3 separate regions of the Homo sapiens genome follow, and regions 1 and 3 are each linked to region 2. Evidence: promoter capture Hi-C in human tissues and cell types (Jung and others, 2019). All regions are on one chromosome and are shown on one strand. Each heading gives the region's core, a stretch centred on a gene start or on the middle of the fragment in contact. The rest is flanking DNA. Distances are from core to core; before and after follow the strand shown. Region 1 has its middle 18 kb from the start of ZNF536-AS1. Region 2 holds the start of DPY19L3 (dpy-19 like C-mannosyltransferase 3). Region 3 holds the start of LOC124904794 (a long non-coding RNA gene).

Region 1 (4,547 bases), core at 527-3,026, 1.8 Mb before region 2:
TTTTCTTGTTACTCTTTAAGTCCTGAAAATATCTGTTTTTGTTTTGTTTTGCTTTGTTTTCACAGTTTGAGTTTGCTTTTTCTTTTACCTATGGGCTTACATTATATCAGAATCTCATATGTTAGCCGATGAGCATTTCTGTAAATAAGCAAGGAGAGATTTTTTTTCCTCCCACATTGTAAATTGGCATCCTTAGAATCTTTCTTTTGTCATTGGTAAAAACTTGCTGTCCGTAGAAAGAGGCAACACATGACACTGTTTCATCTTAAAAAATACTGAACTGGGTAAATCCTCCATCCAAACAGATGACCAAGGTTGGTTGTTGTCCCAAGAATGTCAATCTCTGCTCAATTTAGCGAGAAATCATGTTAAATGAAATGGCAAAGCCCTCACCAATGAAAATATGTGTTAAAATGATCTGCAAGTCGTCAGTGACGCTGGGACGTTGGAGCATACTGTCAGAGCAGAAGCAAAGGAGAGAATGGAAGCATATAAATAGCATTGAGAACTCGAGAATATTTCAAGACAATATTGATGTCTAAAATATATGTGAATGACTGCATAATGATCGAGGCAGACATAATTCAAAGTACAGTCAGAATCTGGCCTCCAACTCAGAGCTTTAAATTCTCCAAAAGACATCTGTTTGCTGAGAAAGCCTCACCAACAGCTGCGCCACATAAAGGGGAGAACCCGGGATAAGGTTGGGAGTTGGCAGGTAGGGGAGCCTCAGAGGGGTTAGGTGGGGTCCTGGAGGGCGGGCGCCCACCTTCACTCCACAGGTACCGGAAGCGGGGCTGCTTTGGACAAAGGCGAGGGAGGTGCCTGTATTTCCTAGAACCAGGTAGCAAATGTTGCCTGTGTGTTTCATCAGAAAGCGCCCCAGTTGGGCACTGTGCCTCTTGGATGCTGACAAGAAGATTTGACGTTACTTCTCTGGTCCTTAACTTTGTTTACCCAGCTGCTATTCTTCCCATACTTAACTCTTTCACCGTGCAGAAAGCAAGGGGGAGGGAGGAAGGGAAGCTCCAGGTGTGATTTTTCAGAACAAAATATAATGCTGTGATTTATTTTTAAAAAAGAGAATAAGCACGAGGAAATTGAATAGCATCCATTTCATGCTTAACCGTGGTTCACAAATGATAGTTTGTAATTAAAATTCTGTCTGCAAACCTATTCTGCAGACCCCAAAAGAAAACTTCCTCAGAATGTTATCAACTCTCCAATTTCTGTAAAGATGCCATATTTTCAGATTTCAAAGAGAGGATCTCCTTTTGAAAATAAAGAATTGTTGGGTATCGTATGAGCCTGCTAAGTACAGCATTTTAAACCCACACTGTGTTGAAAAATTCAAGAATTTGGCAGTGACCTTAAGGCCACAGATAGGATAATGAAAAATGAGGCGATGAGGGCAGTGTCTAAAGGAACTACTCTTTTGTTCTAACAGAAGCTTTGTGTGTGTGTGGCTTAAGCAAGTGGTTCAATAGAATTTCTTTGAAACAGAAACAAAAATGCTAAGAGCTGGTTACAAGTACTCTGGTCTTCTTTTCTCCTTAAAATGCAGGAAGAATTTTTACCTCTTCTCATGAATCTTGTCTGCTGAAATGTCTCAGTCTTCATGTTATGTTTACCAAGGCCAGGCCAGAGGATCTGATAATTTATAACCATTCCTATTGGGTTTTATGTAATAACTTTGGAACTCATATAAAGTAATGATCCACAAACTCTTTTAATGTTCATTATAAAATATGAAATATTTCTCAGAACCATTGCAATTATGTGACCAGACATAACTGTTTCACACATGAGTAAATACAGGGAGGTTTAACATAACTTTATTATCTTGCTGTCTTTTCTTCTCATTGATGTGATAATACTGTTTTAATATTTTTCTAAAGAAAAGTTAAGTAATTTTAGAATCTCTACTGAGGCCCGCTTTATTGGCTTTTGTAATAGAACTCTCAAATCTAATTGTATTTATGCTCAGACTGACACCACTAAATGTCGTGAATGGAAGGGAAATGCCCCCCAAAGCTGTGTATTCTGTAATTATCGATAGATGTGTCTCTGCTGACGAGGCCTGGGGATCTGGGGAGAGTCACGCAAGTAAAGCTGAGATGGCAGCAGGCATTTCCACCGTCATCCTGAGGCCCCCATGGATGCAGAGAGGTGCTTTTCTAAGGAGTGAATGAGCCCCGTCATTCTGTAGGACTCACCAGGAAACTTTTCCCCCTTTACTGTGTGTGCTGTGTCTGCCTCTCCTGGGTCTGGAGTCAGTAGCATGCAACTTCTAGTTTCGTAGAAGGCTGATCTCCGAAGGGAATTTTCCTGGGCTTCCTGTCCTAGTGATCTGAGCTGAGTGGCATTGTTCCGGTTGCTTGACCTTCACCTGGGGCGTGGGCTTGGGGTCATCCCTGGTGGCTGTAAAGTCTCCTGCAGCGATGGAAGCCAGAGAGGGATTATTCTGGAAACCCACTTCTTACTCCCCGTGTGGGCAGTGGAAGCTGTAACACCAAGGCGGGGAACCCAGTGACAGTGCTGCATCCACTCTCGATGCCCCGTCAGAATCCAGGATCCTCCCAGGACCGAATGGCGGCTATTTCTAGCCTAGTAAGGTTGGGTGGAAAAGATTAAACATGAGGGAAGGTGCCGTTATCTGGGCATTTCCAAGTCCTGGAGAGGAGAGAGGGTTTCACCATGCTTGACTCTTTTATCTTACTTGTTTTTAGACAAGTGTTTCTCAAAGTCTCATGTGCAACCAGATCCCCATGGATCTTGCTATGATGCAGATTCTGACTCAGTAGTTCTGGGGAGGACCCTCTATCCTGCCCTTCAGCTCCAGGGTCATGGCTGTGCTGCTGATCCAGAGACCACACATTAGATCTGGGTGTAGCATCTGTCTTCTCACTGCACATCTGCTTTCGGGGAGACAAGCAGACACAGGGCATGGAAGGTTAGGTGGGGCCCTCTGAGAGGCCTATGAGTGCAATGAAACTTGAAGAGTGGCCTGATGGCTGGAGCCAGCTCACAGTTGGGTTTTGTTTGACTTGTCCGATATTACACTTTTGCTTTCAATTGGTTGCACACAGTTTAAAAATGAAAGATTTTTTAAATTTACAAATCCAGGCTTTCAGGTTCTCTTGAAAAACTAGAATGTCTGGGACAAGAGATAGAAGAGAGGTGGGATCCGCTCCCTTAGGAGCAGAGGATGGAAGAGAGGTGGGAGCCACTCCCTTAGGAGCAGGGGACGGAAGAGAGGTGGGAGCCGCTCCCTTAGGAGCAGGTGATGGAAGAGAGGTGGGAGTCACTTCCTTAGGGAGGTGTGGCTCTTCCCTTCTCCGCCAAGGGGTCCCGCCCAGCCTGCCTTGCTCATAACACAAGAGTTTGCAGACAGGGAAGTTAGACCCCAGGAAAAGAGGGTCACTTCCCTGGCACACACAGGGCATGTGCAATGGTGGAGGCTGCGTGCCCCCCTGCTGCTGGCTCTTGTCTGGAGTTTGCTGGAATGGAGAACTCTTGCCCCATCAGAACCCAGGACTCACCTGCGTGCTTTAGCTCTGCCTTCTGGCAAGTGCCATCTTCCTCTTTGAGGAGCTGTTCCTTAGCTCTCTAGTTCTCACAAGCAAGCCACTAGAGAGGGTGCAATTCCCAGCTAATTAAAGGTCTTGAGATCCTCCCCTCCCTGTCGCCGACGCTCCTTTGAAACAAGCGGGCTGCATAAGAAGTCTCCCTGGCTGCTACCTGGCAGCAGGTGTGAGCCAAGGGCTGGTGCCCAGGCTGCGTGGGGCCCAGTGGGGAGGGAGCCTGACCTTCACCTAGGTACATCCAACAGGTGTGACCGCCCGGCATAGTAATCACCCAGTTCCTAGGTGGGCAGTATTGGGGATCATCACAAAATCTGGAATGTTCATTAGTGCATGAAATCATCTGATCATCTTCCCACTTGGCCCTCTTCACTCCTCACCACCCCCCTTATTCACCCCTCACCACCCCCCTTATTCACCCCATCCCCAGTCTCTCCTGGAAACTGGTGGGTTGCATTGGAGTCAGATGTGGCAAAACACAGCCTAAGTCAACATTCGTGGTTCCTAAAGCGAAAGAACTGTGGAATGCTTGTATTCAAAGATTTCTCCATGACTGCACCTGGTTGAGTGATGAAATAAAGGTGAAACCAAAAAGACCTTTCTGCTTCCCTGGGCGGTGGCTATCTAGGTCTTTAGTTCTTTTAACCGGGCGATTGTTGCTGTAATGGGTCTCAGTGCTACTGGGGCACTGACTGAGGCTTGTTTTTTTTCTCCATGAAGACCAGGAACCCAGTGCCCTGGAAGGCTGGTGGCTTAGGTAAATTTGAGGGCTGGGCTTGAGCCAGGCTCTGCTGAGCTCTACACTTCAGCTGTGTCTGCCACCCACCCCCCACACACCCCCCCATGCTGGGCAAAGCCACCGTGCTTACAGCGTTGACTTTCTTTATCCCCAAGCAGCATTCAGGGCTAACTTTTCAGAAATTTTTATTTCTGAATGCTGGTTAAAGGCAGGATCTTCTGCTG
Region 2 (4,928 bases), core at 2,396-4,895:
TCCTCTTTCCAAAAAGGGAGAAGGGAGGAGAAGAAGAAAGAAGAGAGGAGGAGGAGGAAGAACAGGAGGAAGAGGAAGAAGAAGGAAGAGGAAGAAAGAAGAAAAGAAGAAAGAAGAGAAAGAGAAGGGAGGAGGGAGGAGGAGTAGCTGCATGAAACTTAAAAGGAATGCCTGAAAGGTAGACAGAGGAAACACGCACAGTCTGTTGTCACAGAAGGCAGGAATGATGGAGAGTGTTTATACTAAGTCAAACAATTGAAAAATGAACACTGGGCTGGGCGCAGTGGAGGACACCTGTAATCCCAGCACTTTGGGAGGCCAAGGCAGGTGGATGACTTGAGATCAGAAGTTTGAGACCAGCCTGGCCAACATGGTGAAGCTCTGTCTCTACTAAACATACAAAAATTAACCGGGCGTGGTGGCCAGCACGTGATGCCAGCTACTCAGGAGGCTGAGACAGGAGAATCGTTTCAATCCGGGAGACGGAGGTTGCAGTGAGCCGAAATCACCCCACTGCACACCAGCCTGGGTGACAAAGTTAGACTCTACCTCAAAAAGTTAAAATAAATAAAATTTTTAAAATGGACATCATGTATCAGACAGGAAAAAGCCAGTAAGACGGAAGAACTCACACCCTCGGGATCCCAAGACAAGATACTTCCATGGGATGGATGTAATGAACAGTGTTAAAAGATTTCTGGTGCAGTGCTTCTCAAAGTGTGATGTACACATAAATGACCTGGGGGTCATATTAAAATGCAGATTTTGGCTACACAGGTCTTGGGTAGGACCTGAGACCTGGCTTTTCTCAGAAGACCCCAGGTGATGCCCATGCTGCACAGCCCACAGACCACATGTTGAGTAACAAGGTTCTGCTGTGGTTCCCAAACTTTTCCGAGCACAGAATTATCTGGAAAACTTCTGTACTAGTCCATACAGCTATACATACTGCTATAAAGGATACTGCTACAAAGAATGCCCAAGACTGGGTAATTTATAAAGGAAAGAAGTTTAATTGACTCACAGTTCAGCATGGCTGGGGAAGCCTCAGAAAACTTACAAACATGGCAGAAGGCAAAGGGGGAAGCAAGGCACTTTCCTCACAAGGAGGCAGGAAGAAGTGCTGAGCGAAGAGGCAAGATCCCCTTATAAAACCATCACATCTTGTGAGAACTCACTATCATGAGAACAGCATGGGGGAAGCTGCCTCCATAATTCAATTACCTCCACCTGGTCTCTCCCTTGAAAGGTGGGGATTATGGGAATTACAATTCAAGATGAGATTTGGGTGTGGACATAAAGCCTAACCATATCAACTTCTTAAAGATTAGTGGTCCCCTAGCCCTACAGATTCTAAATTGAGTAGGCGTGGGGTAGGGCCTGATAACATGCATTTCTTAACAACCTCCCAAGTGATGGTGACAGTGACGCTGCAGATCCCCAGACCACACTTTTGAGATGCACAGCACAACTATTTGTGGCCCTGGCAGAGACAACCAGGGAGACTATTTAGGCTTCTAAACCTACTGCAAACCGGAAGTCTTGCTATATACCACCACTGCAGTCACAGTCCATTACAGGAGCCCATTCCTTTTATAGTACCTCCCTGGCTCCGGGCTCATATGGCCAGAAGTGTGAGCAAGGACCTACACTCATTATCCATCACCTCCATGGTTACTTTATCAGAACCAAAGACTCATTCTTAATTGGCTTATTCTCCCCAAGACTTACTCTCAGCAGTAGGTCCTACTTAGGAAAAGTCTCAAAGCTTCATCTTGCTTAGGAATGTCTTTTCATAGTATTAAAAAAAGCAGCTACTGCTGAATTCTACTTTCTTTTTAACTAAGCGATGATATTTCACAATGGTCACATTTCCCCCAGAGTGAAACAACTTGAGAGAAAAAAAAAAACCTATAAAATAAGAGGGAAATCCTATTTAAGGGGAACTCAATTCACCTATGTATTCATGAAACAGACACATGCACATAAAGGCATCTTAACGTGAAAAATAAACATACAGTCCTTGCCCTCAAGCCAGGCGACAGAAAAGCTACCAACAACCAGGCTGAAACAAGACAAATGCCATCTGAAAAAACAGCTGACATTTGTTTCTATCAAAGCCATCCAGCAGATACCTCAACATCTTTCCACAGAACGTGTGCTCTTTACTAACAACCGACACACAAAGGAGGACGATCTCCAACAGAGGTGACTAGGAAAGGCTTCCTGGATGGCGTAATTTAGTGTTGGAGTCAGACCAATGAGCCGCCTTTTCACGGGTGGAGGTCCCAGATGGCCATCCCTTTAACAAAAATCAATTAACATGTAAATTATGTACTGACAAATACAACGTTTGATGGGCCCGCTGCAGTGGCTAAAGCCTGTAATCCCAACATTTTGAGAAGCTGAGGCAGGAGGCCTGCTTGAACTCAGGAGTTTTAGACCAGACTGGTCAACACAACGAGACCCCATCACTATAAAAATTAAAATGAATCTCAGCTACTCAGGAGGCTGAGGAAGCAGGGTCACTTGGGCACAGGGGACTAAGGTTGCAGTGAGCTACGATCACACCACTGCACTCCAGCCTGGACGACAAAGCAAGACCCCCATCTCTACGAAAAATTTAAAAATTAGCTGGGCATAGTAGTGCGAGCCTGTGGTCCCAGCTACTCCGGAGGCTGAGGCGGGAGGATCGCTTGCGCCCAGGAGGCCGAGGTTGCAGTGAGCCGTGATAGCACCACTGCACTCCAGCCTGGGCGACAGACTGAGAGCCTCACCTGTAAAAAATAATTTTAAAAAAGGTTCCACCTAGTGTTTTCCGTGGTGTGACTAAGAAAAGTATCTAGAAATAAAGCACAGTCAGTACCTGCTCTCAAAAAACGGCTGCCAATCTAGTTTGGAGACAGAAAAATATACCCGACTGAGAACACAGAGGAGCCTGTTTTCGGAAGAGGGGCGTCTTTGGAGACGCAAAATCCTCTCCGCGGGACGCTGACGGGCAGTCGGTAAAGGACTTCCAAGCACTGGTCAGTGACAATCGGGCGCTGGGGCTTTGCCAAGGCCCGGAGGCGGCGCGCCAAACCGGGCAATGCGGGAAGCGGGGCAGGCCCGAGTGGCCCTACTGCTGCCGTCCCTACTGATCCCTGCGCATCCGCCACAGAGCAGGGAACGGCAGAAAGGAGGAAGGAGGGGGAGTTCCGTAAATCAGGCCCTCAGGGGCTCCCAGGCCCGCACCCCTCTCAAGCCCCGGGGACCACCGCGGAGCCGCTGCTCCGGGCCGTGCGGCTCGAGGCGAACCTGCCTCAGAGCCGCCGGGCCCTCCTATCCCGAGCCGTATCTCTAGCTCCGGCCTGAGGTGGCCGGCGACTGCGTGCGCAAACACAAGATCCGCACCCCACTCCCCGCCACTGCAGCTCCGCGGCCGCGCTCAGAGTCTCCGGAACAGACCGGACTCAATGCGGACCAGGCAAGCGGAAGTGTGCCGCTTCCTTCCGGCCAGCGCAGCACGAGACGAGGCGGGGAACCGCGGGAGGAGGCGGGGCCTAGTGTTGACGAACAGCTCCCGGGGCCTATGGGCGCGGGGGCAGCCGCCCGGCCTCTCCGGCGCGCCCCCTCCCCGGGGCTGTTGACGCCCCCCAGCCCCTCATTTCCACAAAGCTCCGCGGCGGTTCTGCCCTCCTTGTACCCGCGGCGCGCTGCGGCCCGTGGCGCGGCCCCGTTCCCGCCTAGCCCCGTCGGCCTCCTTCCCCTCCCGGAGCCGCGCGTGAGGACGGCTGAGGCCGCAGGTCTGTGGCGGCGCGCCGGGACGCGCGGGCGAGGGTCTACCGAGAGGGCGGGCGGGCGCCGGCGGAACCCTCGGCTACAGCCCCGAGCCCCTGGGGCCGCCCCTCCCCGCCGCGTGGCGCAGTCGGGGGGCGCGGCCGCGGCGTCGGGGCGTCGGGAGGGGCGGAGCGCGGGAGTGTCTGCCGGGACGCGGGCCGGGCTGGGCTCCGGAAGGACCAAGTTTGCGGAGCGGCTTCTGCTCGTCGGCCGTGCGGCGAGGCAGGGCCTGGGCTGCGACCCCGGCGGCCGCTCGCGGTCTTGGGAGAGCTGGGGCGCGTGCCTGAACTTCCCGGCTGCCCCTGTCCTTGGAGACCTACCTGATGGGGACGCCAGGTGTGCAGGGGCGTGGCGCGTAGGTAAGCGGACCCGGTGCCTGCCTCGTCCAGGGGATGCTCACTAGAGCGCTAGGCTTTTTTATTTTTATTTTTTAGAGACAGGGGTCTCGCTGTCTCGCCCAGGCTGGAGTGCAGTGGCGTTATCACGGCTCACTGCAACCTCGAACTCTTGGGCTCAAGCGATTCTCCCACCTCAGCCTCTGGAGTAGCTGGGACCACAGGCATGCACCACCGAGCCTGGCTATTTTATTGTATAGATAGGGTCTCGCTCTGTTCCCCAGGCTGGTCTCAAACTCATGGTCTGAAGTCATCCTCCTGCCTCAACCTCCCAAAGCGCTGGGATTACATGAGCCGCCTCGCCCGGCTAGCGCTAGTCGTCCTTATTAATAAAGAATCGCTTCTGGTCCCTTTTCAGTTGTTTACAATGGCATTCCTTTTGATCTGATGGAGGAACTTTTTTTCTTAGTTCATGGGACTGTTGCAGTGCCTGACACATAATTGGTACTTAAATATGTGTTGGTTTTCTGCCTTAACATATTAGAATATATGAATTGTTTAAAAAAGTCCTCTCACACTTAGGGAGGACTCTAGGATGAGGTCACATGGGGGATAAGCCCATCTGTGGCTGTAGGACTTTGTTAAACACTCCTCTTCTCCCTCTCTGTTCCAGATTCTCCATTTCCAGTGCTTGAAAGCACAGTACTTAAATCTGGCTTCCTGCTTTTTTTTTTTTTTTTGGTATGAATGAATACATGAATTGTATAATGTTAG
Region 3 (4,754 bases), core at 413-2,912, 1.0 Mb before region 2:
TTTGGGGCCAGATCCTCTAGAATGCATGATTTAGGGTCATTCATTGCACATTCCTGGCTTCAGACTGGTTTTCTGAATTTCCCTGCAATCTGATTTTTGTCTTCCTACATTTCTGTGTGTGAGATACATCAAAAGGTAAAAGAATGTGTGAATCATATAGGTACGGTTTAAATAATACCTGCATACACAACACTCAGTCACCTGAAACCCCCCGACACCTCCCAATTCCAGTCCCCTCTCCTGGAGGCCACCTCTATTTTTAATTTTTGTAATGATCACTTCCTTGCCTTACTTTGTAGTTTTAATATTTAGATGTGTATACCTGGTCATGTTCATAAATGAAATCATGTTGTATGAATTATTTTGTGTCTTGTTTCTCTTACTCAGCATTGTTTTTCGGACTTAACCATGTGGATTTGTGTTGCTGGTTCATGGTCAAGGTTCTAGACTATGAAAACATTAGTTTCATGAAAACATTAGGATTTTTTCCCCCCAATTGTTTGGATATCATGAAGAATGCCGCTGCGAACATGTTTGTTCCTATGCCATAACTCACATGGGGAATATCTCCTATTTATATATAGTTAGGGGTGGGATTGCTTGGTCAGAGTTTGCATATCTGCAGCTCTAACTGTTTTCCAAGATGATTGTGTCAATTTTCACTCCCACAAGCAGTTTTTAAAGTTCCCATTGTTCTACATCCTTGCCAGCCTATGATATTGTTAGCAATGTTTCTTCGTATTTGTAATGTTTCCTAATCTAGCGGCTGTGGTTGCTGTCTCACTGTGTTTAATTTGCATTTCCATGATTACTAATGAGTTTGAGCACCTTTTTTATATCTGCGTGGTGATCGGGAATGCCTTATTTGTGAGATGCCTGTTCAAGTCCTGCCATTATCCGTTGCATATATGTTTCACATTATTTCACCCAAGTTCTCTGTTGCCCAGGTTTGTTTCAGATTGGTTTGGGACAGTGGATCAGATCAGAAATGTTTCAGTGACATCTCTCACTATATTTCCTAGGATGCTTTTATCTGTGAGAAATACGACCCCCTGCTCACACTGGCTTAAGGAAATTGGCAAGAGGTAGATTATGGCTCCATTATATTAACAGGAAGCCAGTTTGCTCTGCCTTCTTACTCTTCGCTTCGTTTTCGGCATAATCTCATCCTCAAGGTGTTTTATCTTATGATTTCAAGAGGACCACAAATGGCGAGTGGAACTAATTGCTTCTTTGTCCACATTCCACAAGGAAGAGAATAATAGAAAACTTTTCATTGACCCATGTAATCTAAGTCATACCCTTCAGTTTCCAGGGGCCACGTCCATGAAGCAGGAGGCATCTGCAGTGAATGCCATGCCCTGACGCCTTACTGAGCACTCCTAGTAGGACAAAATGAGTACTGTATGGGGAGGAGGCAACCTCAAACAACCACCATGCTTACTGCCAAGCCTATAGGATATTTTTAAATTCATTTTTTAATTTGCATATAATAAAATGCATTTTTTTGGGATGCAGTTTTCTGAGTTTTGCCAAATGCACAAAATCACATAACTACCACTGCCATCAAGATTTGGAACAGTGGCTAGGTGTGGTGGTGGCTTACACCTGTAATCCCAGCACATTGGGAGGCTGAGGCAGGAGCATCGCTTGAGCCCAGGACTTCAAGATCAGCTTGAGCAACATAGTGAGACCCCATCTTTACAAAAAACTTTTTAAAAATTAGCTGGGCATGGTGGCATGTGCCTGTAGCCCCAGCTACTTGGAAGGCTAAGGCAGGAGGATCACTTGAACCTGGGAGGTTGAGGCTGCAGTGTGCTGTGATTGCACCGCTGTACTCCAGCCTGGGTGACAGAGGAAAACCCCATCTCAAAAATTTTTTTTAAAAGATTTAGAGTCGTTTTCTTTTTTTTCTTTTTTTTTTTTGGACAGAGTTTGGCTCTTGTCGCCGGGGCTGGAATGCAATAGTACAATCTTGGCTCACTGCAACCTCCACCTCCCAGGTTCAAGTGATTCTTCTGCCTCAGCCTCCCGAGTGGCTGGGACTACAGGTGCCCAGCACCACACCTGGCTTTTTTTTTTTTTTTTTTTTTTTTTTTTTTTTTTTTTTTTAGTAGAGGCAGGGTTTCACCATGTTGACAGGCTGGTCTCGAACTCCTAACCTCAGGTGATCCACCCTTTTTGACCTCCCAAAGTGCTGTGATTATAGGCATGAGCCACCGTGCCTGGCCTAGAATAGTTTTCTTACTCCCCCAAAACTGCTTTATGCTGCCTTTTTGTAGTCAAACTATCTGCCTGCCCTTAACCCCAGCTCCCCCGCATTAGAAACCACTGAACCTCTGATCTGTTCTTCACCTTAAAGCTTTCCCTTTTCCAGGGTGTAGCGTATGTGGAATTATAGAGTATGTCACCTTTCAAGTCTGGCTTCTTTCATCTAGTGTAATGCATTTGAGATTTATCTATGTTGTCGGATGTATCAGTAAGTTTGTGTCTTAGCAGTGCTGAGAAGTATTCCTTTGCATGGATGTACCCAGATCTGTTTATCCATTCATCAGTTAGAGGACAACTGGGTTGTTTCCAGTTTGGGGTGATTACAAATAAAGCCACGATGTACAAGCACCTCTAGGTTTTGGGTGAACATAAGTTTTCATTTCTCTTAAGTTTCAATACCTAGGAGAATGATTGCTAGGTCAATGGTAAGAGCGTGTATAATGCTACAAGAAAGTGCTAAACTGTTTTCCAAAGTGAGTGTAGCATTTTGTATCCCCGCTAGCAATGAAATGAGAGCTCCGCTTGCTCTGTAAGAGGCATTAGTGAATATGAAAGTGCTTTGTAAAGACTAAGGGTGTCTCACAGTGTGCCCAGGCGGGAGGATTCAGAGGGGGCATTTCTAAACTCTAAACTCCTGTGGGCTCCTAGCCCATCCTTCTGAATGGGGACAGAATACTTCCATTTCCAGGTTACTTGCTTCTCCAAAAGGGAGACAGGGAAGTATCCTTCTCTTTTTGCAAATGAGGGCACAGCACTGCCTCTCGTGGTTGAGCCAGTCATTATTCAGTAGGAACAGCAGTGAGATTCTCCAGCCTTCTATTTTATTCCTGGGGTCACAGAGTAAAATGCAGCGTGATCATTTGGAGCATTCTTATGCTTTGTGACAAGAACAAAGCCAGTGGAAACAGCCATGTGTCCAATCAGAATGTCAGAGCTGGCAGGGACCTTAGCAATTGTCACTTTACAGATGATAACCTATTACATCCCCAGGTCCCCAGAATCCCAGCCCAGGACTCACTCCCTCAGCCTTCCTGGATTGTCCTGGGTGGAACAAGATCAGCTCATTTAGCACATAGTCTTCCAGAACACAAGGCAGTGTCCCACCAAGGTTGGATGGGACCAGCTTCTCTATCCACAGTAGCTGTGCACACAGAGACAGAAATGAAGCCGTACTGCCGGGTGCACCGTGGCCAGAGATCCTCCTTCCTGGTATATACTCCCGGAGCCATTGCTTCTTTCATTTCAGTGCCCATTTCTGAGGCACCTTCACATTTCAAACGTCCTGAGAATATGTTTAATTAGAACTTGGCCATACAGCCTTTTAAAACAAAACAGAAGGGACCAGCTAATTATATCACTCAGCATTCTGTGGCAAACATATATTTTTTAATAAAACACTTTCCTAACCAGAGTAATCCCTGGAGATGCAAATCCTCATTTATAAGAAGTTTCCCAAAGGGAGTTAAAGAGAAGATGCCTTATAAAGAAAAGAGACAAAGAGAGTGGGGAAGTGTTTTCAAAGAGCTTTTAAAAGATACACTCATTCTGAGGTTGAATTACAGATATTTTAAGGGTACCAAATTTTATTTCAGATGTAATCCTTTCCTGTGTTTTTGATCATGTATTTCCGTTTTTTCCCTTTTTGATCATTGCCACAAATGCCCATATTTCTCTTTCTGGTGTCTTTCATAAGTGCAATATTTAAATAAACAAGGGATTTTCCCAAAATGCACCTCATCTCCTACTCTTTGTCATTTCCTTGTCTTGCTCTGTAAATAACCGTGTGTCTCACAGCAGAGCTTACACAGAATGGATGTGGGGCAGTCTGTGGTCCTGGGGAGGGCCTTCCCTGTAATCTCTGCAGCCCAGGACAGGGAGAGGGAAGATTTAGATCCTGCTGCGGCATGTCTTCAGGAGTGGAGGTCAGCTTGGGACATTTACGTTCATGAGGCAGCCGCAGAGGGTCAGAGCAATAATTGTGCCAGCTGATGTTTGCTGCGGGGTTTACTCCAAGCCAGGCCACACGCTAAGAAATTAGGTATCGTACCTCATTTAATCCTCACAATCCTCACAAAATGTAGTTGTTTTGCTCCATTTTGCAGATGAAGAAGACGAGGCTTGAGAGACGAAGGAATGAATGAAGGGTCTCACAGCTGTTAGAAGGGTTAGATCTTGTATTTGGACTCAGGTCTGCCTGCCCTGGAACTTGACTCTCCCACACCTGGTGCTGGGCACACTAGGAGACGTCACAAGGCTCAGAGATGCCACCCTTCCTAGAACGGGCGCCGTGCCTCTCTTCTCCACACACTGCAGGGGAGACAGGCACTGTGTTTTCAGATAAGTTCCATGTGCATCAGGGGCTCGGTGGGAAAGGGAGGACACACTCAGATTAGGATTATTCATGGAGGATTCTCCAAAGAGGCTATTTGGAAAGACGGAGGGAATGGTGAAGGAAAGCACAAGAGAAAATGGACAGAACCGTT

The links. The method cuts DNA at HindIII sites, captures the fragments that hold promoters and counts their contacts. A contact is called where the count stands out against the background at its distance.
Region 1: a contact is called between a fragment that was not itself captured here and the fragment with the promoter of DPY19L3 in region 2, in 1 of the 25 tissues and cell types used here (dorsolateral prefrontal cortex).
Region 3: a fragment that was not itself captured here is called in contact with the fragment with the promoter of DPY19L3 in region 2 in 1 of the 25 tissues and cell types used here (dorsolateral prefrontal cortex).

Annotation. Positions count from the first base shown.
Region 1 is chr19:30,650,421-30,654,967 of GRCh38, forward strand. It overlaps a transcript of ZNF536 not described here. Among named protein-coding and RNA genes, the nearest start is that of ZNF536-AS1, 18 kb to the right of the region's middle. The HindIII fragment of the contact is 7,132 bases long and covers 1-4,547 here.
Region 2 is chr19:32,402,125-32,407,052 of GRCh38, forward strand. It overlaps DPY19L3 (dpy-19 like C-mannosyltransferase 3), which reads left to right and starts at 3,646. Exons shown (of 19, transcript NM_001172774.2): 1 at 3,646-3,785. DPY19L3-DT (DPY19L3 divergent transcript) reads right to left here and starts at 3,415. Exons shown (of 3, transcript NR_046201.1): 1 at 2,867-3,415. RefSeq lists silencers at 3,198-3,247, 3,278-4,027. The HindIII fragment of the contact is 7,870 bases long and covers 14-4,928 here.
Region 3 is chr19:31,362,121-31,366,874 of GRCh38, forward strand. All of the region lies in intron 1 of TSHZ3-AS1 (TSHZ3 antisense RNA 1), which reads left to right. LOC124904794 (a long non-coding RNA gene) reads left to right here and starts at 2,161. Exons shown (of 2, transcript XR_007067377.1): 1 at 2,161-4,754. The HindIII fragment of the contact is 4,270 bases long and covers 1-3,797 here.